7 separate regions of the Homo sapiens genome follow, and all the other regions are linked to region 3. The links are contacts of gene promoters, found by promoter capture Hi-C in blood cells and fetal thymus (Javierre and others, 2016). All regions are on one chromosome and are shown on one strand. The core of a region is centred on a gene start or on the middle of the fragment in contact, and the rest is flanking DNA. Distances in the headings are between cores, read along the strand shown.

Region 1 (2,966 bases), core at 239-2,738, 390 kb after region 3:
CAGAAGAAAAAAAAAACAGGAAAATATCTTACTGTCCTTGGCTTAGGCAGTAATTTCCTAAATAGGATACAAAACCTATTATAAACTATAAAAGAAAAATTTGATAAATTGAATTTCATCAAAAATTTAAAAATATGCTCTTCAACAGATATTAAGAAAATAAATATCCAAGCCAGAAGCTGCGACAGAATATTTGCAAAAGCTTGTATCTGATAAAGGACTTGATTTTTTTTTTAAAGTTTACAGTTTAATAAGAAAACAACCAATTTTTAAAAGGCAAAAATTTGAACAAATACTTTACCAAAGATCATATATAGATGACAAGCACATGCAAAGACTCTCACCATCATTAGTCATTAAGGAAATCCAGATTAAAAGTACTCTGAGATAACAGTATACATCAACTAGAATAGGTTGCTCTTGGTAATGCAAAATGGTGTAGCCATTTTGAAAAACAGCTTGGCAGTTTCTTATTAAGCTAAACATGCGGTTACTTACCATAGCACCCAGGCTTCCCACTCCTAGGTATTTCTCTAAGAGAAGAAAGCATTTGCCCTCACAAAGCATGTGCGAAATGTTCCTAACAGCTCTAGTTGTAATAGCTTACAACTAGAAGGAACCCCAATGTCCATCAGTTGGTAAATGGATAAACAAATTGGGGTACATTTATTCCATGGCATGTTGCTCAGCAACTACTGATACAGACAGACAAGTAGATGAATCTTAAAAGCATTGTGCTAAGTGGAAGAAGCCAGATAATCACACTACTTACTGATTGATTCAGTTATGAAACTCAAGGAAAGGAAAAACTGCAGCGATGGAGACCAGGACGGGTTGCTAGATGCCGGCAGATGGTGGAGGAGCCCAAGGGCACTTTGTGTGGCAATGGAAACGTTCTAGAGCATGATGGTGGTGCTGGTTACTTGACTTTATGTTTGTGAACACTAAATTCTGTGCTCAAGATTTACACTCCTGACCACACCCTCCCTAAGTATTACAATAGGTAATTTCTGTGGAAGGGTACCAGAAATGGCAAGTACATTCACCAGAATTGAGTATTTTTCACAGTGCAGGCACAGACTCAGATCTCCATGTTATATTCCAAGCCCAGTTACCAAATGCCCATCCAGCTAGATGGTTCATCTGACTGTTATTGTTTCAATTCTAGGAAATGAGAAGGAAACGTGTAGATTGGTGGTGGTGTGATTTGTTGAATATGTGTTACATATGGGCTGACTAGTTCTTTTTTATTTGTCTTATTTGACAGGAGTGTGAAACCAAGATTGCACAAGAGATAGCCAGTCTTTCAAAAGAGGATGTTTCCAAAGAAGAGATGAATGAAAATGAAGAAGTTATAAATATTCTCCTTGCTCAGGTAACCTAAAATCTTTTTCTCTCTTTTGCAAGACTCTTTTTTGTTTTTGTTTTTGAGACAAAGTCTCGCTCTTGTCCCCCAGGCTGGAGTGCGTCGAAGCGATCTCGGCTCACTGCAACCTGCAACCTCCGCCTCCCAGGCTCAAGCGATTCTCCTGCCTCGGCCCCCTGAATAGCTGGGATTGCAGGCACCTGCCACCACACCCAGCTAATTTTTGTGTTTTTAATAGAGACGGGGTTTCACCATGTTGGCCAGGCTGGTCTAGAACTCCTGACCTCAGGTGATCCGCCTGCCTCAGCCTCCCAAAGTGCTGGGATTAACAGGCGTGAGCCACCGCGCCCAGCCTGCAAGGCTCTTAATGGTCATTTAAAAATAGTAACTTGAGAAGCTCTACTACAGATGTGAATATTTTAACCAAAATTATAAAGTGATTTTGAGGGCCTGTGTCTGTTTTATTTGTCCCTTCCTTTATGTTGTGTTTGTTAAAATGTTCAGTTATGGCGAAAGAAACTACCTTATATTCAGTAATGACTCTTTACTGGGCATTGTTCTAGACGTTTAATCTCATTTAGTGTGCACACAGGTCCGAATTATAGGTCTTTTCCCTAATTTACAGATTAGTGGTACTTGTTCCATATTAATGAGATCAGACTTTTAAAAATATTTTAAAAACCGTTGTACCTGACATTACAAAGTCTGGAATCCTTGAAATGTAAGAAACAGATTTTATCTAATAGTTGTTGCTAATAACACCTTTTAGATATTTTGATTTTATTCTTTACAGGTGAAAGTCAATTGTTGGAGGCAAATTGTCTTATTAGTCCTTCATTGATTTAACAGATATCCCTTTCGTGCCTACTGTATTCCAGGCATAGAGCTGAAGATGAGCTCATTTCTTTCTGAAGTTCTCAAGTCAGCCTCACTTTGTTCTGGAAATTGCCAGAGTTTAACCAGAAAGGAATGAAGTTCTAGGCTCTGACCACAGTGTGTCTAGGGTTCCAGAAACTCGTGTGGTTTCCCTGAAGCCCAATAGGTTTCAGTCCTTCTGTGTCACCTCTGAAACATGCGTTGTTTTGCCTCTCAGGAGCACATAGTTTTCCTTGAGGAGAGGATGAGTCCCAGATTATATCTTTGTTTCAGGGTTTTTCAGTCTGGTGTTTGTTGGAATGTCAGCTTTAGTAGGTATGCAGAGGTATAGGAAAGACATCTGTGTTCAAAAATATTTGAGCAGTACTGTGTCCTTCATCTCCTGGAGAGACGTTCTCAGCGCTGTTGGTGTTTGTGGGTAGTTCATTTTGGCATGTGACCATGGTAAATAACTACCTTCTCAGTACCTGCTCATTTGGAAAGAACGTCCGCACCCAGCTCCTCATCCCCACAGCCACCTTCTGTTACTCTCTTAAGCTTTGTCTGCCTTGCTTCTTTTCTCTAGGTCAGAGGGGCTCTCTAGATCTTGGGCAGATAGGGATTTTTTCCCCATTCTTTTAATAAGACTGATGATCTTACCAATCTTAGAAATGCATATTGTGGTAAAGCAGAATATTGACTATTTAAATACCTTTGGGCCAGGCATGGTGGCTCACGTCTGTAA
Region 2 (3,085 bases), core at 308-2,807, 390 kb before region 3:
TGGGGCCTGGGTATCGCGACGATGCTCACCCTTCCGATGTCCTGTGTTGGCCCGGCTCTTCCAGGTGGAAATCAGAGATGGTCAGCTTTTTGGAGAGACAGGTCCAGAGCCCACACCATGCCTCTTGTGGTCTGGACACCACTGGTCCACACAGGTACTGACTCTGTCTTTTCTAGTACGGCTGCAACCAAGGGCCCACCCACTGAACGGCTTCAGAACCTGAAGCTTATTCTTTCACAGCAGTGGGGACTGCAGTCCAAGATCAGGGTGCCTGCAGGGCATGCTATCTGGAAAGGCCCTAGGGGAGAGTCTGTTCCATGCCTGGTGCTTTGCTCCCTGGCCTGTGGTGGGGGCTGCAGTCCAAGATCAAGGTGCCTGCAGGGCACGCTGTCTGGAAAGGCCCTAGGGGAGAGTCTGTTCCATGCCTGGTGCTTTGCTCCCTGGCTTGTGGCTGAGCCACCCAAATCTCTGCCTCTGCCTTTGTCATCACACAACCTCTTCCCTGTGTGTCTGAGTCTCAGCTGCCTTCTCTGTGTGTGTGTCTCGTCCTCAGCTTATAAGGACACCAGTCATCTTGGATCCGGCCCATGCAGTCTAGTAGGTCCTCCTCTAAACGTGCAAAGACTCTGTTTCCAAATAAGGCCATATTCCCCAGCACTGGGGGTAGCACTTGAACATATCTTCTTGGGGAAATAGTTCAGCCCACAACATACAGGAAAACAGAGAAGCTGAGTAAGCCCTAAGGAAGTCTCGCTGGAATCTGACACTGCCCTGCCCTGCGAGGACAGGATCAGTGGGCTCGCATTTTCTGTTTTTTGTTAATAATTATCTGCATTGTGTTTTTCCTGAGTGGCTCCAGATGGATAGCCTCAGCAGCCCTGCACAGGCTCCTGTCCTCATTGTGTCCTCCTTGTGTGCCCCATGCTGGAGTCCCACTGGCAGGTTGTGAGGAGAGCTGCCTGGTTGTCACCCACACACCTAAGCTCTGTGTCCTACCTCCAGGTCATGTTGGTGCCCCTGGTCTTCCGTCCCCAGACCATACCCCTCAGAACTGCTTGTGGCCGCCTCACTTGGGGCTCTGCACCCCTGTCAGCTCTCTCCCTCACACAGTTTCCTGGTTCTGCCCTGTTGCTTTCTAGTCTCTCTGCCTGCACTGAACTGAGGTGCCCAGACCTCACACCAAGCCGGACCCCTGCCCCCATCCCTCCCCTGCAGTCAGTTTTGCACAAAGCTGCCAGGTAGGTCTTCTTGAAGAGGCCTCACAACACTAAATATATTCGTATATTAGTAGGTGCCAAGGCAGGAGGATCGCTTGAGCCCCCAGGAATTGGAGACCAGCCTGGACAACATAGTGAGACACCATCTCTACCAAAATTTAAAAATTAGCCAGGCATGGTGGCATGCACCTGTGGTCCCAGCTACTTGGGAGGCTGAGATGGGAGGATCGTTTGAGCGCGGGAGATCAAGGCTACAGTAAATGATAATTGTGCCACTGCATTCTCACCTGGGTGGGTGACAAAGCAAGACCCTGTCTCCAAATATATGTATGTATGTGTATATATATATATGCACACACACACACATATACACACATATATATATTCTGAATATATATATTCGTGACTCCCCGAAATAAATTCAGTTTATATATATGTAAATAAATTCTGAAGACTCTACATGTGTGTGTATATATACATATATATTTTTGTATTAACGTTAATAGTAATATTAACATGAGTTCAGGGTATTAGCCAGTTCTGTCTTTCGGGATGAAGTCACTGGATTGAGGCAAGACTTCAGTGAAGGAAGCCATGTGGTTTGTAAAATGAAACTGACAGGGGACCTTTGTATCTTATGTTCAGGTGATCACAGCTCCTTCTTGGGGGTCATCACAGTCACCTAAGAGATTGAGTTCCTTCAAAGCAGTTTCTTGTGCACAAGGACAGATGGGGTGTCCTCTGTTCACTCTGCTAGCACATGATGCTGCCGTCAAAATGGCACACATCATCTCTACTTTTAGTTCTGTTATAAATGGAGACCCTGGACTTGCCTCAGATGACCTTGTGAGATATTTTATTTGTTTGGCAGCATTAAAAGGTGGAGCCTTCGATCAGCCAGCAGCATTTTCCATTCCTGGGACATCCCTTCTTATGCAGCATCTGCAAGCTCATTTCATAAAGGCATGGGAGAGCAATTGGAGAATGACAGGTGTGCTGTGGCACCCCCAAATGCAGTTGCCGCTGCCTCAGGCCTTACCAGTAATGACACTATATCAGGGTGGGGAGGACAGTAGGGACAGGTTAAGAGTTGGCCAGCCTGGGGCTGCAAGCCATGCTGTCACCATAGCAGGAGGCAAGGTGTATGGAGAGGCCAGGCTGGCTGCGGACGGACCACATGGATCTAGGGTCCTGGCTCAGGGTGTTCGATGCACTCTGAAGGCAGAGGGTGCTGTGGTTGAAAAACCACAGGAGGTTTTTCAAGGGAGAATGATATGGGCAGTTATATCTTTGGAAGGTAAGTGGAGGAAGAGTGAAGTGAGAAGACAGAGCCAGTGGAGAGGCTGTGGCCGTGGCCTAAGTGAGAAGAAAGCAGAGCCTGAGCTTGGGCAGATCCAATGGTGGGCCCGAGAGAGTGACAAGAGCACAGGGATGGGGTTTGGCCACCTGTAAATACCTGTAAGCACAGTGCCTCCCACTGGCCCTGGCCCTGGACCCCAGCGAACAGGGCTTAGGGCATGATCCTGGATCGTACAGACATGGGGGCCTATTCTTTCCTTGGCAACTATGGGACTTCGGGCAGGTTGCTTAATGGCTTGAACTTCAGTGTCTGCAACTGTAAAACTGAGTTGTTGGGACCCAGCTATAAACTTGTTTCGATGTTTCAGTAAAATAAAGCTTTGCTCTAAGAGTAACTTTACTACTAAGACTAACATAAAACTGTATTTTCAGTTTGTTTCTGTTAACCCATAGGGAATATTAAAGTTGCTGTTAGCTGGATGGTAATGTCATTTTATTTTTTATATTTGTTTTTATTTTTATTTATATTATTTTGAGACAGAGTCTCATTCCATCACCCAGGCTGGAGT
Region 3 (2,971 bases), core at 123-2,622:
TACAGGCGTGAGCCACTGCGCTCGGCTATAACGATTATTTTTAAGTATGTCTTTAAGATTTTTTTTTTAATTGAGAGAAGGTAAACAACAGTTAATTTTCCAAGTGGCACAAAAAAGTAACAATGAAAATGTCCTACCCTGGAGCTCTCCTGACTTTCTCATAGGCGACTGTTTTTTTCTTTGTATTTCACATCATAAATAACCAAGTTAAATGTAACACTATTCCACCTCTAGCCATAAGGTGCTCTTTTTCTAGTCTTGTTGACCCTAAAGATTTGTAGGTGGGAGAAATCAGGAACCCAGGAAAGGAAAAACTCCTGATCTTTAATGCAGGTTTATGCTTTACATAGTAATTTGATGGGACCTCGCCGTCCCTGTCAGGTCTGAATGTCACTTCATCTGCTGTGATCACACCTGAACCCTCAGTTCATCAAGACGTTAAAGGACAGTGTAACATAAACTTGTAACTGCATGCACTAAGTCATAAACAGACGCTGTTGTTGCAGATTAACCTCTACGTAAATAACGCGCCCAGAAGGGAGTGAGTACACGCTGCTGCCACGCTGCGACGGTCAATTTTCCTCCGGCACCCTTCCTAGTACCTGAGCAGCTCCCTCTCAAATCCCCAACACTACGTGTGGGAGGGTGCACTGAATTCCTCTTTAAAAAGGCCACTGGAAGGCGTGGCTGGGAGGGGACGCGCTCTAGACCCCCTGGTGCCAGGGCAGGTGCACGCTACCGCGCTTTCGGGGCGGGGCCCAGGGCCCCACCTGAGGCGGGGGGCCGCGGGCTCTGGGCGTAGGTGCAGCTTCTCCGGCCTGGTGCGGGGCCAGACGGCCGCCGCCGGCTTAGCGGGGGAACTTCGCCTAGTCCTCGGGCTGCGGTCGCAGCGTCATTTTGCCTGAGTTGGATCACGCTCGTCCACCCACCCCGTGTAAAAATAACAGGTGAATACCCTATGTGGGGGTCCTCATCGCCGCCATTTCCAGAAGCTTCCAGTCACAGCCACTGCCACGGTCGCCACAAATGCTACTGCAGAGCCCGCTTGCCCAGCAGCGTCACCGGCGCCTGCCCTGCCTCTTCGCCCAGCCTTTGATTCCCCCTCCTTTGTCGGATAGTGTCTGCGGCGGGGAGGCGGTGACACTAGTCCGAGTGGGGCGTGGAGACCGACCAGCACGAAGGGCGGAGTTCCGGCCCGCACCCCTCCGCCGCCTGCCGCTTGGTACGTCCCGCTTCCCCGCCCTGCGGCTCGCGGAGCCTGGCTGAGCAGCAGGAGGGGCGGGCGCCGGGGGGCGGGGCGGTCACGCCGCCCGTCCCGTGCCCGCGGTAGTCACGTGTCCGCGGGTGTCACGTGCTCGCGTCGCAGCCAATCGCGGGGCGACGCTGTCCTGGGAGCGAGGAGGCTGTGGTGAGAGACGGACCGAGACCGGAGATGTTTTCAAGCCCGGCTCCGGCGGCTTTACAGGCGGCTGCAGCGGCGACGAAGACAACGACAGCGACGGCTACGCCGAAGCACTCGTTCCGGGGGTGAAGCCTCCTGCGCCGGCCTTGCCTCGGGTCCGTACGGGTGAGGGGGGCGTGGCGACAGGAAAGGAGGAAGGAGGGGCGCGGTTTCGAGCTTGTCCCCGGCGCCAGGGAGGAGATCCCCTCAGTTCTGCGCTGCTCCCGTTCCCCCTCCCCAGAGCAAGGTAGGGGACGCGCCCTGCCCGCCCCCCCCGGTCCCGACGCGCCGCCCGCCCAGCCTGGCCCGAGCCGTAGCTCGCCTGACAGTGACAGGCCGTTAGTGCCCCCCGGCGCGGGTCCGCCGGGGCCCCGCCCGCCGCCGCCCCTCCCGGCGTCGCGAGGAGCCGCGGCGCAGGTGGGAGCCGCCAACTGGGCGGGGGCGCTGCGCGGGGCGGGGCGGGGGCCGGGCGGAGGGCCGCGAGCTGGCCTCGTCGCGGGCGCCCCTCACCGCGGCTGGCGGGGCTGGGCTGCCGCCGCCTCCCGGAACATGGCGGGGCCGGAGGAGCGTGTGCGTGCGAGTGTGAGTGTGCGCGGCCGAGAGGGCGCCGCTGGCGTGCGGCGGTCGGACCCGCGGGGGCGGGGGCGCGCCCGGCCCGCCGCGCGTTCCCGCCGCCAGCCGCCGAGCGTGCGCCGACGCCGGGGAGTCTGCCGCGGCCGCTCGGGCCGGGAGCGTCGGAGGTACCCGGGTCCTGGGAGAGGTGGATGAAATCAAGAAGGGGAAATTGCTGCTTTAGTAGTGTCCGGGGAAAGAGCAGCCACTCTACAGTTCTGTCTTAAATGCCAGTGTAAAATAACCTTGCCGCATTGGACAGGCAGTTCCCGTCATCGTTTTTCAAGTACCCACTTGTGATGCTTCAAGACCCCTGGAGCACGTCAGGTTCTTAGATCTCGTTTTGAGGAGTGATGTGGAGTGACGCATCCTTACAGATCCCAAAGCGTTGAATAAACGGTTGTACAAAGAGGTATGCGAAGCTTAGCTGACAGCTGTTTTAGTAATAACAGTAAGACGCTGTCTGGGATAGGAAGTTACTGTTGCACTCGTTGAAACCTTAGGAAACATTTAAAGCAGTGTAGTCACCGGGATTGTAATTTCCACTGGACACCCGTGGTTAAACTGCGAACTAAGGTGAAGTGTGTTGCAGATCCAGTGCTGTGTATGTAATGGTTCGGAATTACCTCTAATCCTAAAGTTGAAATGAGCCTGCATCTGCAGTCATGTATTTCGTTTTCATTTTAGAATGGTTTATGTAAATTATAAAGAAAGGCTAGTGAAATAGCTATTTTATCGTAAATTAACTGTGTATTAAAAACATATGCACAGCCGGGCGCGGTGGCTCATGCCTATAATCCCAGCACTTTGGGAGGCCGACGTGGGTAGATCACCTGAGGTCAGGAGTTCGAGACCAGCCTGACCAATATAGTGAAACCCCCGTCTCTACTAAATATACAAAATTAGCCAGGCGTGGTG
Region 4 (3,066 bases), core at 269-2,768, 470 kb after region 3:
CCAAAAATCCATCAACATTTTAAAGGTAGAAAGCTGAGAAAAAGTTAACTTGCTCAGATTATAAAGAGAATAAATGGCAGGGCCAGAATATTAACTCAGGTCTAAAGGCTTACCAAGCCCAGTGTTCTTTCCCCTACACAAAACTATACTGAGGTATCTTCCAGAATGACTGCATGATAGATGCTCAAATACCAACCACATTCATATCAATAAGGCCAGAAAGTAAGTTAAGTTTGCTCCTTAGTCTAGGGAGATAAGAAGCTAAGATGACTTAAAAGTTAGGAGAGTTAAGAAATGAATGTGGAGGAAGCAGCATTGATGATGTCACCAGCTCAAAGATCTGTGCTAAAAGCAGAGCAAGTTCCAGACCCTCTTATAGAAATTAGAGGGAATACCTCCTCAGCCAAAATTCCATAGGTGTGCCATCCAGACTTCTGCCCAAAACACTAAGTTAGGTTTATTCTCAGCTCCAATTTAAAAACAACAACACAACTCTAATTCAAATTTAGGAACTTTCAAATTCTTTTACTCCAAAATATAAAAAAAAGATGTAATACAAACATAGGAGCAAGGTAACAATAGTTTAATAAACATACATTCATTGTTTTGAGGAGACTGAGAGAAAAGGACCAGAAATAATAAACCAGAGATCAAACAAATGTGGCAGCAGACTTCTGAACTTTACCTCCTGAGGTCTATTTATCTTTCACAGGCAGGAACAAACAAAAAGTATGCATTTAGGTGTCTTGGTTTTTTATTTTTTGGAGGGGGGAGGGCAGTGGATCGTGTAGCTACAGGCCCAAGCATATTTACAAAGGGGTTTTTCTCTCTGTCTCTCTCTCTCTCTCTTTCAATTTTATGTGGGAAGTTGTTAGCAGAGGTATCATTAATTGATCCAACACACATGTGGGTACCACTGAAACCATTTTAAAAGCACTCTTTTCTAAGATATCAATGATATTATCTCTAAATAAAGATCTCTCCATCCAGGCTTGTTGGCAGCAGTCAAAACAGGCTACCAGGTCTCACGACTCACCCTCCCAAATCCCTATTTAACAATACTCCTAAATATGATTCACGTTCAAGGGCACCTTCCAAAGGTTTCTGAATGATTCCCTGGCCACTACCAGATACAGCCCCAATATTTTGCTCCTCACCTCCCACCGGAAGCAAGGACTCTAAGCTTATCAGAACTGGTTTTGAAACATGGTAGGAAGGCCTGAAGATTCTGCACAGAGTGCGGTCTAGGCGGTTACCCTCAGTTAGTTCTGGACCCATCCTTCACTCTACTTCAACACCGCCCTTAAACCCGAAAAACAGCATAATGTAAAAGGATTCCAAAACTTAAATATGAAAAAAGTCTGTTGTATGGCATACTCAATAACATAGCTTCAAAAACTTTTCAACGTCATACTTAGTTACAGCTGAGATAAAAGTTAACGACTAAATAAGCTGTCTTATACCCAAGCTCCATCCTCTCTATCATTCTCCAGGTGTAAACTAAACCACATGCAGCATCCCAGATTAATTTTCAAGGGTACTTTAAGAACGAGTTCAAAGAAATTGCCTGTACAAGTTTGGGTTGATCAATATTTTAAACTGGGCCATTTAAGAAAATATTCAAAATATGATATTTAGAATCAGAAGGCCTAGCTTAAAATTCCGTCTAAACTTAGGAGTTTTGTTTCTTTAGTCCCTTTGGGCATTAGTCAACTTACTTATTAGTATTAGAATACCACAGCCTACACATCACAGGACTGCTGTGAAGAATAACCTGTGTATGAAAGGCACTGTAAACTAAGCGTTACATAGCCATTCTTTAAAAATAACATTCTTCAACATATTACTTTGATAAAAGCTTAAGTTCTAATGAAACTCCTTCAATGAAATTATTTTTACAAGCATTGGCTCATCAAATCTTAACCGTATCTTAGTCTCATTTCATTTTAGGAATCTACCAACTTAAATGTGAATCAAAATTGCATCTTTGGAAACTAAAACAGAAATCTGAAATAATTTTTTCTAAACATCTACAATTTTGTATTGTCTCCCATTATTTAAGGAACATAATTAAATATAAAAAGTTAAAAAGGGTTTACCCAACTCTGAAATCTGCTGAGATAACCTATGTTCAAATGGAGTCACTGGTTTGCTTTCAATTTGAAATTCAAAGTATTTCATGATACAGTACTGAAAGTTTCACTTTTAAACTTAAATACATATGGTTTTTATTGCATTATTCTCCTAAACTTTTTTTTTTTGAGACGGAGTCTTGCTCTGTCGCCAGGCTGGAGTGCAGTAGCACAATCTTGGCTCACTGCAACCTCTACCTCCTGGGTTCAAGCAACTCCCCTGCCTCAGCCTCCTGAGCAGCTGCGACTACAGGTGCACGCCACCACGCCCAGTTAATTTTTTTTTGTATTTCAGTAGACATTTCACCATGTTGGCCAGGATGGTCTCGATCTCCTGACCTCGTGATCCGCCCACCTCGGCCTCCCAAAGTGCTGGGATTACAGGCATGAGCCACTGCACCCAGCCTATTCTCCTAAATTTAAGAGTACCTGATAATGATTTCATTTACTTACCTTTATAAGTTACTTGATAAAAGTTTAAGTTCTAATGAAACTCCTTCAATGAAATTATGTGTACACACACACACACACACACACACACACAAATACCATCCATTTTTCCCTCATTAGGATTTTTTTTCCTCCAAAGGTTATCAGTCAAGTCAGTCTTTGACCAACCTTTTCCCCGACTCTGTGCCTCTGTACAGAGACGGGATTAAAACAAATCAAATCGAAAGACCTGAGACTCTTAGCAATGTCTGGCAATGCCCCTCTTTCAAGTCCTAGACTCCAGCTAGGTCCTTTCCTAGATCATCTGCACAACAGAACTTACTGTCTCTTCCCTCATAGTCCAGGTTCTGCATTTAGGAAGGTCAACCAAGATTCTAGAGCTTGACCAGAAAACAATTTCTTCCCATCCCAAGGGCCAACTTACACCTAGCTTGGCTGAAGTAGTAGGACTTGTTTACAACTACTCTGGAGGTTGGGCTCCATA
Region 5 (3,224 bases), core at 121-2,620, 410 kb before region 3:
TCCCTCAATGGCATTTTGGCCCACTCACCTCTTTGCCTTTTGGTATGTCTGTGTCTCTCTACACAGCCCCGTCCTTATGAAACGCTGGATAAATATTTGTTCCATGGGTGAAGGTTTTATCATCTTTATTTTTCCCTTGAGAAAGAGCCAAAACATTATTTAAAAATCTCTTGCTGAGGAATTTCTGATTCTTTATATCATTACCTAAGGATAGTTAATAAAGGCCAGTAATTCCACTGTAGGTCAAGTTTTTTGACAATGACTGTGAGTCATGAAATTGGCCTGTTTGGTTAGTGATAAGCGAAGCCGCTTCTGTTCATCAACTTCCTGAACGTCAGCCAGGCTCCTCGCTGGGCTTGGACAACGCCGGCTTGTCCCCTGTGCGCTGTACAGCTGCCTTCTTTTTATTTCCTGTGCAGTCTCGCCCACAGCACTGCAGGCTCCGGGGGACCTTTTAGGGCAGATTATGGCACCCTTGGGATGGCTACCTTGGACGCAGCGATGCTGTGTGAACATTACTTTGCAGACTTCCTGAGAGATTGAAGATCCATCTATTTCTCTCCTTCTCTAAGACAGCCTTTCTTGGAAGATGGGAATCTCTGATAATGTGCAGGGCGTTTCAGCATTTTACCTACACGTTAGAATGGAACCTCTGACTTGTAGTGAAACAGACACTGTGCTTGCTGCTTTTCTTAAAAATAATTGGCTGGGTGCGGTGGCTCACGTCTGTTTTCCCAGCACTTTGGGGAGGCCGAGGTGGGCGGATCACGAGGTCAGGAGATCAAGACCATCCTGGCTAACACGGTGAAACCCCATCTCTACTAAAAATACAAAAAATTAGCCGGCCGTGGTGGCGGGCGCCTGTAGTCATAGCTACTCGGGAGGCTGAGGCAGGAGAATGGCGTGAACCCGGGAGTCAGAGCTTGCAGTGAGCCAAGATTGTGCCACTGCACTCCAGCCTGGGCGACAGAGCAAGACTCCATCTCAAAAAAAGATAAAAAAGTAAAAAATAATAATAATGATAATTAAAATAGGCTGGGCACGATGGTTCATGCCTCTAATCCCAGTACTTTAGGAGGCCGAGGCGGGCAGATCACCTGAGGTCAGGAGTTCAAGACCAGCCTAGCCAACATGGTGAAACCCCGTCTGTACTAAAAATACAAAAATTAGCCAGGCATGGTGGCAGGCGTCTGTAATCCCAGCTACTCAGGAGGCCGAGGCAAGAGAATCGCTTGAACCTGGGAGGCAGAGGTTGCAGTGAGCCAAGATCGCGTCATCGCACTCCAGCCTGGGGGGCAAGAGCGAGACTTCGTCTCAAGAAAAAAAATAATAATTAAAATATAGACAGCACATATTTCTGAATAATTTAGACTTTCACTAGGCAGTAAACTGCATCAAATTTGTAGCATTGTCTGTGCTATGGGAAAAATAGAAACTACTGCTCTTCTCAAAAAAAAAATTTTTTTTTGAGACAGAGTCCCACCCTGTCACCCAGGCTGGAGTGCAGTGGTGTGATCTCAGCTCACTGCAACCTCTGCCTCCCAGGTTCAAGTGATTCTCCTGCCTCAGTCTCCTGAGTAGCTGGGATTACAGGTGTGCACCACCACACCTGGCTAATTTTTGTATTTTCAGTAGAGACGGGGTTTCATTATGTTGTCCAGGCTGGTCTTGAACTCCTAACCTCAAGTGATCCACCTGTCTCAGCCTCCCAAAGTGCTGGGATTACAGGCGTGAGCCACTGTGTCCCGCCTCAAAATTTGTATTTGATTCTCTTGGGGTCTGTTGAATTTATATGCTACAAGTCATGTTATTGATGTAATATAATTTAGGTAACTTTATTCTTTTAATCTTCATTTTTTTTGAGACAGGGTCTCGCTCTGTTGCCCAGGGATCATGGCTCACTGCAGCCTTGACCTCTTGGGCTCAAGGGATCTTCCTGCCTCACCCTCCCGAGTAGCTGAGACTACAGGCGTGTGCCACCACACCCGGCTAATTTTTTTGATTTTTTAAATTTATTTATTTATTTATTTTTTAGTAGAGACTGGGTCTCATCATGTTGCCCAGGCTAGTCTCAAACTCCTGAGCTCAAACAATCCTCCCACCTCAGTTTCCCAAAGTTTTGGGATTACAGGGGTGAGCTGCCGTGTTTGGCTAATTTAGGTAACTTTTATCTTCAAGTGCAGAATCAAGAGTCAGAGAAATAGAAATGCTTAGAAAATACTCCATAGGATTCTCTACGGCCTGAGTGCTGTTTCTTGGTGTTGCTCAGACTCAAGTGAGCCATCGTACGTTGAAATGGTATGATTATGAGCCAAATAAGCAAGTTGTGTTGTTTTTTTCTCCCTGGTAATAAAAAATCATTCGCATTGAAAAGACGCCGAGTCACCCATACATAGTTACACAGCCCAACTGAATGTCTCCCTGTTGGGCAGGTAATCAGGCAGCACTTGAATTCTGACCTGAGAATAAGCCCCAGAGAGAGGATGGACCCCAGGTGCTGGCAGGGTGCCGCTCCCCATGGCTGTTTGTACAGGGTGGTTATTCTCCCCTGAAAGAATGTTGGGGGTGGGGGCAGTTAGGTGTGTGTTTGTTCCTTGCATCGTAGATATGCTTTCGTGTGACCTTCAGCAGTGTTCCTGGGACAAGGGGAGCAGGAAATGGGGAGGGCATTCATCAGGCAGTTGGCATTTGAACGTAGACACTGTTCATCTTTGGGTGCGGATGTGCTCTGGTTGCCCAGGCAAAGCCGTGTTCATTGATCAGACATCTATCTGTGTACTGTTTAGCACTCAACAGTTGCGGGTAGACCGTTGCCAGTTGTTTTCGCATCACACGTGGCTCATCTCTCCTGGCAGGGGGGAGGAAGGTGAGAGCTGAGGACGCAGTGCCTGGGAGCCAGGGCGCAGGGCAGCCCTCGGGACTGTCAGACCACCTCGGGGGCTGAGGTGAGACGAGGCCGGGGAGTGTTTGATCTTCTGTGTTTATTCATGGGCATTAGTAAAGCTTTTTTTCATAAATGAGAGAAACAAAATCACTGCTGAAAAATCCTCCATGTATTGTTTCTGTAAACTATAGGAAACATTAAAATTTGAAGATGATATGGTTTTTCACAAGTGCCTGTCTGTATCTGTGTCGGCCTCATTTTTTGTTTGTTTGTTTGTTTGTTTTTGAGAGGGAGTCTCTGTCGCTCAGGCTGGAGTGAAGTGGCGTGATCTTGCCTCACT
Region 6 (3,292 bases), core at 571-3,070, 350 kb after region 3:
TTTTTAGGAGAGACAGGGTTTCACCATGTTAGCCAGGCTGGTCTTGAACTCCTGACCTCAGGCAATCTGCCTGCCTCGGCCTCCCAAAGTGCTGGGATTACAGGCGTGAGCCACTGTGCCTGGCTTCAAAATAGGAATATGAATCAAGAACTTAGACTTTCTGCTTGAGAAAATTATGAGAAAAGAAATTGCAGATATAAAGCTGAAGAAAAGCTTACTTAAGTCCATTTTCTTACCACTACTGAGGTAACAAACAATTGAAAAGCAGTGGGTAAAATTCTAAGTTTTTCAACAAAGCTTAGCATTTTAAGGAAAAAAAAAACTGTATTACAACATTAGAGTTTGCTTCTTCAGATATTCCTCAGGTTACTTTTCAAATTAATGTCTTAGAAGCGTTATGATTGTATAAAATTTTTTTGTAGTCAACTGAAGCCATAAAAGCATCATTTCCTTCCTTTAGGTCTAAATGATGGAATAGTTTTACATGATGATAACGAGTTATAGAATATAAGTTACAAGACAGGAACAATCTGCTAATGTGTGTGTGTGGTGTGTGTAACAAGTTTTTTTAAACAAATAATGATTGTTACTTTTAACAACTTAATTTGAACTTTTATTATCATGGTTTAGTAAATAGTGCTTTTACTTTCTGCTTTTCTTTAATCAAAATAATTCACTATGTAAGTAAAGAGTTTAGTTACTATGTAACATTTTAATTCCAAATCTTGACTTTTGGCCTATTTTGCCTGCGTAAGATTAGTATTTTTACTTCTGTCTCCAGATTTTATTTAATTCCAGGAAATAATGCAGCAGCTGTTGTTATTTATTTATTTATTTATTTTTTAGGCAGAGTCTCACTCTGTCACCCAGGCTGGAATGCAGCGGCATGATCTTGGCTTACTGCAACCTCAGCCTCATGGGTTCAAGTGATTCTCATGCCCCAGCCTCTTGAGTTGCTGCAATTACAGGTGTGCACCATCATGCCCAGCAATTTTTTCTATTTTTAGTAGAGATGGGGTTTCACCGTGTTGGCTAGGCTGGTCTCCATCTTCTGGCCTCAAGTGATCCTCCCACCCCGGCCTCCCAAAGTGCTGGGATTACAAATGTGAGCTGCTGTTAATTCTTACGCAGTACCTTTATATCCTAGACAGTAATTTTATTCCTATTTTCCATTTCTTTCCTCTAAAATGTTACCTTGTGATAGGGCTTGGCTGTGTCCCCACCCAAATCTCAAGTTGAATTGTGTCTCCCAGAATTCCATGTTTTGGGAGTGACCCAGAGGGAGGTAACTGAATCATGGGAGCCAGTCTTTCCCATGCTATTCTCCTGATAGTGAATAAGTCTCTTGAGATCTGATGGGTTTATCAGGGATTTCCACTTTGGCTTCTTCCTCATTTTCTCTTGCCACTACCATGTAAAAAGAGCCTTTAGCCTCCCGCCATAACTCTGAGGCTTCCCCAGCCATGTGGAGCCATAAGTTCAATTAAACCTTTTTTTGTTCCCAACTTCTGGTATGTCTTTATCAGCAGCATAAAAACGAACCAATACACCTTAACTGAAATCTTCATGGGGTGGTGGTTCTTACTTACCCAACCAAGATAATTGACCACTTTATAACTTTTGAGCAGCTCTCTACATTTAAATGTTTACAGATCACCTATTAAGGAAACTTCTACTTAGAATTGTCAGCTGAGGATTTTCTCTAACTATCGTGGGTGATATTAGACCTACTTGTTATTCTATATCAGTAGTTAATAATCTAAGGTAATTTTTTCCTCAATCTCATTTTTAGGAAATTTTTTTGAAGAAAATTATAAAAATTAATATATATATTTTCAAAAATTTAAGTAGGACCCAAATGGAGCCCTTTGTCCCCCCAAGTCCTCTGGTACCACATCCCATACATTAACCCAGATGTCATATCATTTCATCCAGGTATATTTTAGTGTGTATCTCTAACCACAACACAGTGATCACACTAACAAAAATTAACAATTGTTTCTTAATATAAAATATTGAATTAATATTCAGATTTCTCTGATTTTCATAACTTTTTTTCCTAACTATTTTTTCACTTCTTTTCTTTTTTGAGACAGAGTTTGTCTCTGTCACCCAGGCTGGAGTGCAGTGGTACGATCTTGGCTCACTGCAGCCTCTGCCTCCTGGGCTCAGGCGATTCTCCTGCCTCAGCCTCCTGAGTAGCTGGGATTACAGGTGCACGCCATCATGCCCAGCTAGTTTTTGTATTTTTAGTAGAGACGAGGTTTTGCTATGTTGGCCAGGCTGGTCTCAAACTCCTGACCTCAGGTAATCTGCCTGCTTTGGCCTTCCAAAGTGGTGGGATTACAGGTGTGAGCCACCATGACCGGCCCCTAACAATTTTTTCAAATCAAAATCCAAATAAGCTCTATACATGGCAATTGGTTGATGTCTTTTAAGTCTTTCTTTTTTTTCAAGGTAATGTGTCATTTTTTTGTAGTATTTTTGTGTTTCTTAACCTTTTACAAAAATAGACTTTATTTTTAAAGCTGCGTTTGTGTTAGAGTTCGCTCCTGGTATGCTGTACATTCCGTGTGTTTAGACAAATGAATAATGAACATGTGTCCACCACTAAAGTACCAATACAGAATAGCTTCACTGCCCCAACAATCCTCTGTGTTCCACCTATTCATTTCTTCCTCCTCCCTAAACCCTGGCTACTACTAATCCTTCTACTGTCTCTATAGTTTTGCTTTTTGCAGAATGTCATATGGCCTTTTTAATTAACGTCTTTTTTTTTGAGACAAGGTCTTGCTTTGTCGTGCAGGTTGGGGTGAAGCGCTGGGATCTCAGCTCACTGCTGAGCCTCTACCTGCTAGGCTCAGGTGATCCTCCCATCTCAGCCTCCCAAGTAGCTGGGACTACAGGTGTGCACCACCACACCCAGCTAATTTTTTCTTTTTTTTTTTTGGGTAGAGATGAGGTTTTGCCATGTTGCCCAGGCTGTTCTCTGACTGCTGTGCTTAAGCAGTCCGCCCACCTTGGTCTCCAAAAGTGCTGGGATCGCAGTTGTCAGCCACTGTGCTCAACTTCTTTTACTTAGTAATATGCATTTACATTTCCTCTGTATCTTTTCATGACTTGATAGCTCATCTCTTTTTAGCACTAAATAATATTCCATTATCTGGATATACCACAGTTTATCCATTGCTGCCTTTTTTGGGGGGATTTATAATATACCTGCTATAAACATCTATGTGCCGGTTTTTGCATGTACATAAGTTCTCAATTCATTTGGGTAAATACCAAGGAG
Region 7 (3,135 bases), core at 502-3,001, 510 kb before region 3:
ATTTGTTGATGTAGTTATTAAATGTAATTTTAAACTGGTTTCTATGCTGAACTGTGGTAGTTATAAGTTGTGTTATGAACAGCAAATACTAGACCGATCACTCAGGATAAGACATAACATGGGCTGACCTTCCCAGTGTGGACTGAAGCGTGAGAGATGGGAGGTTATAGACACTGGTGCAGATACTGCTTTTCCTTGGAATTAAGTGATGTCAGGTTTCGTGGGGTTTTCTTTTTTTCTGATAATGATAACAAAATACACAAATAGGATTATTTTGTATGACAAATTGCATCTTTGTTGTTTTTGCTTCACATTTATTTGTTTTATTTACAGGTGTTGACTTCAAAATCAAAACTGTAGAGCTAAGAGGAAAGAAAATTAGATTACAGATCTGGTAAGTGGGAGAGTGTGCACCCAGTAATGTGCTGTGTGTGTTTAACAGTCCATGTACTTGTCTAATAAAATGAACTGTTTGAGCTGATTTGCCTCTCCTACTTTCTCCTCTTTTGCTCATTTTAAAATTAAATGGACAGTGTTTCCATCAAGAGAGAGAATTTAGATAAGGCTGTTATGTTATATGCCACTTGCACATGGGGAGCAGTTGTGGACAGAAGAATGTTACTTTAATGGTAGCTAGTTTGGAACCTTTTTGCCTCTATTTTCAAATTATTTACGTGATATCAAAACTGTCTCCACTAAAATGATTGCTCAAATGTTTGTCTTCATGTCTTTATTTTGTATGATAGTATTCAAAGAAAGCCCAATATGTTCATAACCAGATTTGCACAATCTGAAGGCAGGTCCCCTGCAGACAGTTCCAGAGCTTCTTGGTGGCACAATGTGACTATTACTGCGGGTGGGCATACTCCTTCCGGCTGTACTGCTGATTCCACGGGATGTGAGCCCCCACTAATGCCTACTAGAAATGAATCCAGGCCCCTTTCTCAAATCACAATTGGAATGAGAGACTCAACCAGCTGTGTTATAACTGCACTCAGCACTAAGAGCTTTCTGTTAGCTATTAACCTGTTAACAGCCCGCAGGTGCTAGCGACCTGTCTGTGGAAGAAGGGATAAGATCTGGTCTGGTGGTCTGGCGGTGGCTTAAAAGTAGCCCCATTGAGGTGCTCTGAGAATGCCGTTTTGTTTTGAATGCTACAGCTGCGGTGTACTCAGCTTACTAACTCCTCTTGGCAGGTCACCCTCAGCTCTGATTGTTTGTCCACCATGTGTGTGTTTGCTTTCATCTGCGTTAATTGCTGCTTCATCTGTGGCATCATCGGTCACCTAATGCTTGAATGTTAGTGCCATGTCTTCATTCTTCATCCGTGTCCCTGTCTGGGCCGCAGCTGCAGCCAAGCCGCAGTGCCTGCCTTCTGGAGGTGTCTGAGGTAATATCTTCATTTGGTCACCCTTCACTGTATAACACACTTCTAAGATTTTTTGATTTGGGTTTTTGTTCGTTTTCTTTTCTGTTGTGCATTTGGTCTGCATATTTTCATTTTTGGCTTGATTATGAAACATTAGGTCTTGTCTAAATACTTGAATAAACAACAAATAGATATTTCTTCCTGTGCTAGTCCCGCAGACTTTTTGTGCATTGCTGCCCAGCTTTTAAACGCTGGAAATGGCAACAAAGTGTTTGGCACACAAGCTGCTGTTTCTAATTATAAGCTCTATAAGGTAAAGACCATCTTCACAAGGATTTGGGATATGCCTCTCTCTGTTCCTAGTACCTGTGTGAGGTACTTTCTGATGAGAATATTGCCCCACAAAAGTGATGTAAACATTATTAGAATGTGTGACGCCTGCCTTGGTGACAGCCATGCCTGATGACTGTGGCACATGTCTTAATTAATGCATTAATACTTCCATCTTCATCTTTGGCGGCAGTATTCTTTATAAAGTATGTCCAAATGATTTATAAAGTATGTCCAAATGTCCTGGTGCCTCCCTGGAGCTCTGCCCACTAAGTCTATGCTGGTGACATTGTACACTCCTGGAATCTGACTACAATGTCCTTGACTCTGAGATAAGAGGGCCCTACCTGATGGAATCCCCCTCGGGGAGAAAGTGAGATACTGTGGCTCCACGAAGAGCAGCGGGCACTCAGAAACCATTTTTCTCTTGTATATGAAAGCATTCTCCAAATGACCCCTCTCCCTCTCCTGATTCTCCCTTGACTCTTTACTACTTTTTCATTCTCTAAATCTGTGCAGCTGTACAGCATGGGCAAAGAGCGTAACTAAGGGAGGAAGAATGAAATGGATTGGACTTACGGAATGGTTGATTGCAAGTTTTCTACATGGAATATTCCAGTGACTCTTTTCCTGCAGGAAGGTTTTGAACAGTGACTCATATATCTACTACAGGCCAGCCATTTTGTTGATCACATAATACTCAAAATAAGATTTTTATCTTCTGAAATATTTTATTTAAAAGATGAAAACCTTTTCCTTCATTATTGCTATGCAGCAGGTAAAAAGGAAGTGTTAGAATCATGATTGTAATTTGTATTACTGTTTTAAAGTAATGCGTGGCTTCTTTAGGAGTGAGGCACAGCCCTTGTGCTGCTGCTGGTGTAACCTGCTTTGTTGTGGGCGTGTTGTCGTCGTTTCACTCTCATCCATTGAGGGCATAGAAGGCGCCTGTGTAGCTGGAAACGGTCCCTCAAGGAGGCGCAGTGGATTGTGCTATGCTAATAATAGATAGCTCTGCTCCGATTTTCTAGACTGGCATGAAAGCATTGCCATTCGGTTTTCATAGGAGGATCTTGTTGGAAGAAGTGCATTATTTACTATAGATTCCTAAAAGCTAAAAGTACCAAAAGCTGCAGGTGTCTGTTACATTTTTACGTCACGTTTTATGTCATTGCCACATATTTCAGTTTGTTGATTACCTGTGGTCAGAAAAAGGACCATTTTTCTCTTCTCTGTACTTTAAAGTATTTCTACATGAATGTTAGAACTTTATGTAAGTAGCTAAAATAAAACATGTTGACTAGGATGTAGTTTGATGAATTTATATCCAAATGGTGTCCTAGAAATTATTTACAGTGAACTTGGAGTTGTGTTGAAATGGACTTGAAGCCGTGAAATTTGCCTCTTACCTTTAGGCAAACACAGAATTGAAATGC

The links. The method cuts DNA at HindIII sites, captures the fragments that hold promoters and counts their contacts. A CHiCAGO score of 5 or more calls a contact.
Region 1: a fragment that was not itself captured here is called in contact with the fragment with the promoter of ANKRD12 in region 3 in 2 of 17 cell types (M2 macrophages and megakaryocytes); the score reaches 6.6 in M2 macrophages.
Region 2: a contact is called between a fragment that was not itself captured here and the fragment with the promoter of ANKRD12 in region 3, in 1 of 17 cell types (fetal thymus). The highest score is 6.2, in fetal thymus.
Region 4: a fragment that was not itself captured here is called in contact with the fragment with the promoter of ANKRD12 in region 3 in 1 of 17 cell types (total CD8 T cells); the score reaches 6.0 in total CD8 T cells.
Region 5: a fragment that was not itself captured here is called in contact with the fragment with the promoter of ANKRD12 in region 3 in 1 of 17 cell types (erythroblasts); the score reaches 6.6 in erythroblasts.
Region 6: a fragment that was not itself captured here is called in contact with the fragment with the promoter of ANKRD12 in region 3 in 4 of 17 cell types (megakaryocytes, M2 macrophages, erythroblasts and 1 more); the score reaches 5.8 in megakaryocytes.
Region 7: a fragment that was not itself captured here is called in contact with the fragment with the promoter of ANKRD12 in region 3 in 1 of 17 cell types (total B cells); the score reaches 6.0 in total B cells.

What each region holds. Positions count from the first base shown.
Region 1 is chr18:9,529,567-9,532,532 of GRCh38, forward strand. It overlaps RALBP1 (ralA binding protein 1), which reads left to right. Exons shown (of 10, transcript NM_006788.4): 7 at 1,268-1,375. Among named protein-coding and RNA genes, the nearest start is that of RALBP1, 56 kb to the left of the region's middle. The HindIII fragment of the contact is 2,577 bases long and covers 201-2,777 here.
Region 2 is chr18:8,747,012-8,750,096 of GRCh38, forward strand. All of the region lies in intron 3 of MTCL1 (microtubule crosslinking factor 1), which reads left to right. Among named protein-coding and RNA genes, the nearest start is that of GACAT2, 41 kb to the left of the region's middle. The HindIII fragment of the contact is 2,669 bases long and covers 224-2,892 here.
Region 3 is chr18:9,135,409-9,138,379 of GRCh38, forward strand. ANKRD12 (ankyrin repeat domain 12) reads left to right here and starts at 1,373. Exons shown (of 13, transcript NM_015208.5): 1 at 1,373-1,557. It overlaps NDUFV2-AS1 (NDUFV2 antisense RNA 1), which reads right to left and starts at 1,312. Exons shown (of 3, transcript NR_110772.1): 1 at 956-1,312. RefSeq lists silencers at 475-648, 651-740, 1,091-1,440, 1,651-2,050, 2,091-2,140 and enhancers at 931-980, 1,471-1,520. The HindIII fragment of the contact is 1,483 bases long and covers 991-2,473 here.
Region 4 is chr18:9,608,221-9,611,286 of GRCh38, forward strand. The region is part of intron 2 of PPP4R1 (protein phosphatase 4 regulatory subunit 1); the gene reads right to left. Among named protein-coding and RNA genes, the nearest start is that of PPP4R1, 4.8 kb to the right of the region's middle. The HindIII fragment of the contact is 675 bases long and covers 1,182-1,856 here.
Region 5 is chr18:8,730,259-8,733,482 of GRCh38, forward strand. The region is part of intron 3 of MTCL1 (microtubule crosslinking factor 1); the gene reads left to right. Among named protein-coding and RNA genes, the nearest start is that of GACAT2, 24 kb to the left of the region's middle. RefSeq lists an enhancer at 153-447. The HindIII fragment of the contact is 3,262 bases long and covers 1-3,001 here.
Region 6 is chr18:9,489,486-9,492,777 of GRCh38, forward strand. All of the region lies in intron 1 of RALBP1 (ralA binding protein 1), which reads left to right. Among named protein-coding and RNA genes, the nearest start is that of RALBP1, 16 kb to the left of the region's middle. The HindIII fragment of the contact is 3,051 bases long and covers 296-3,292 here.
Region 7 is chr18:8,624,605-8,627,739 of GRCh38, forward strand. RAB12 (RAB12, member RAS oncogene family) reads left to right here. Exons shown (of 6, transcript NM_001025300.3): 2 at 334-394. Among named protein-coding and RNA genes, the nearest start is that of RAB12-AS1, 10 kb to the right of the region's middle. The HindIII fragment of the contact is 4,106 bases long and covers 1-3,135 here.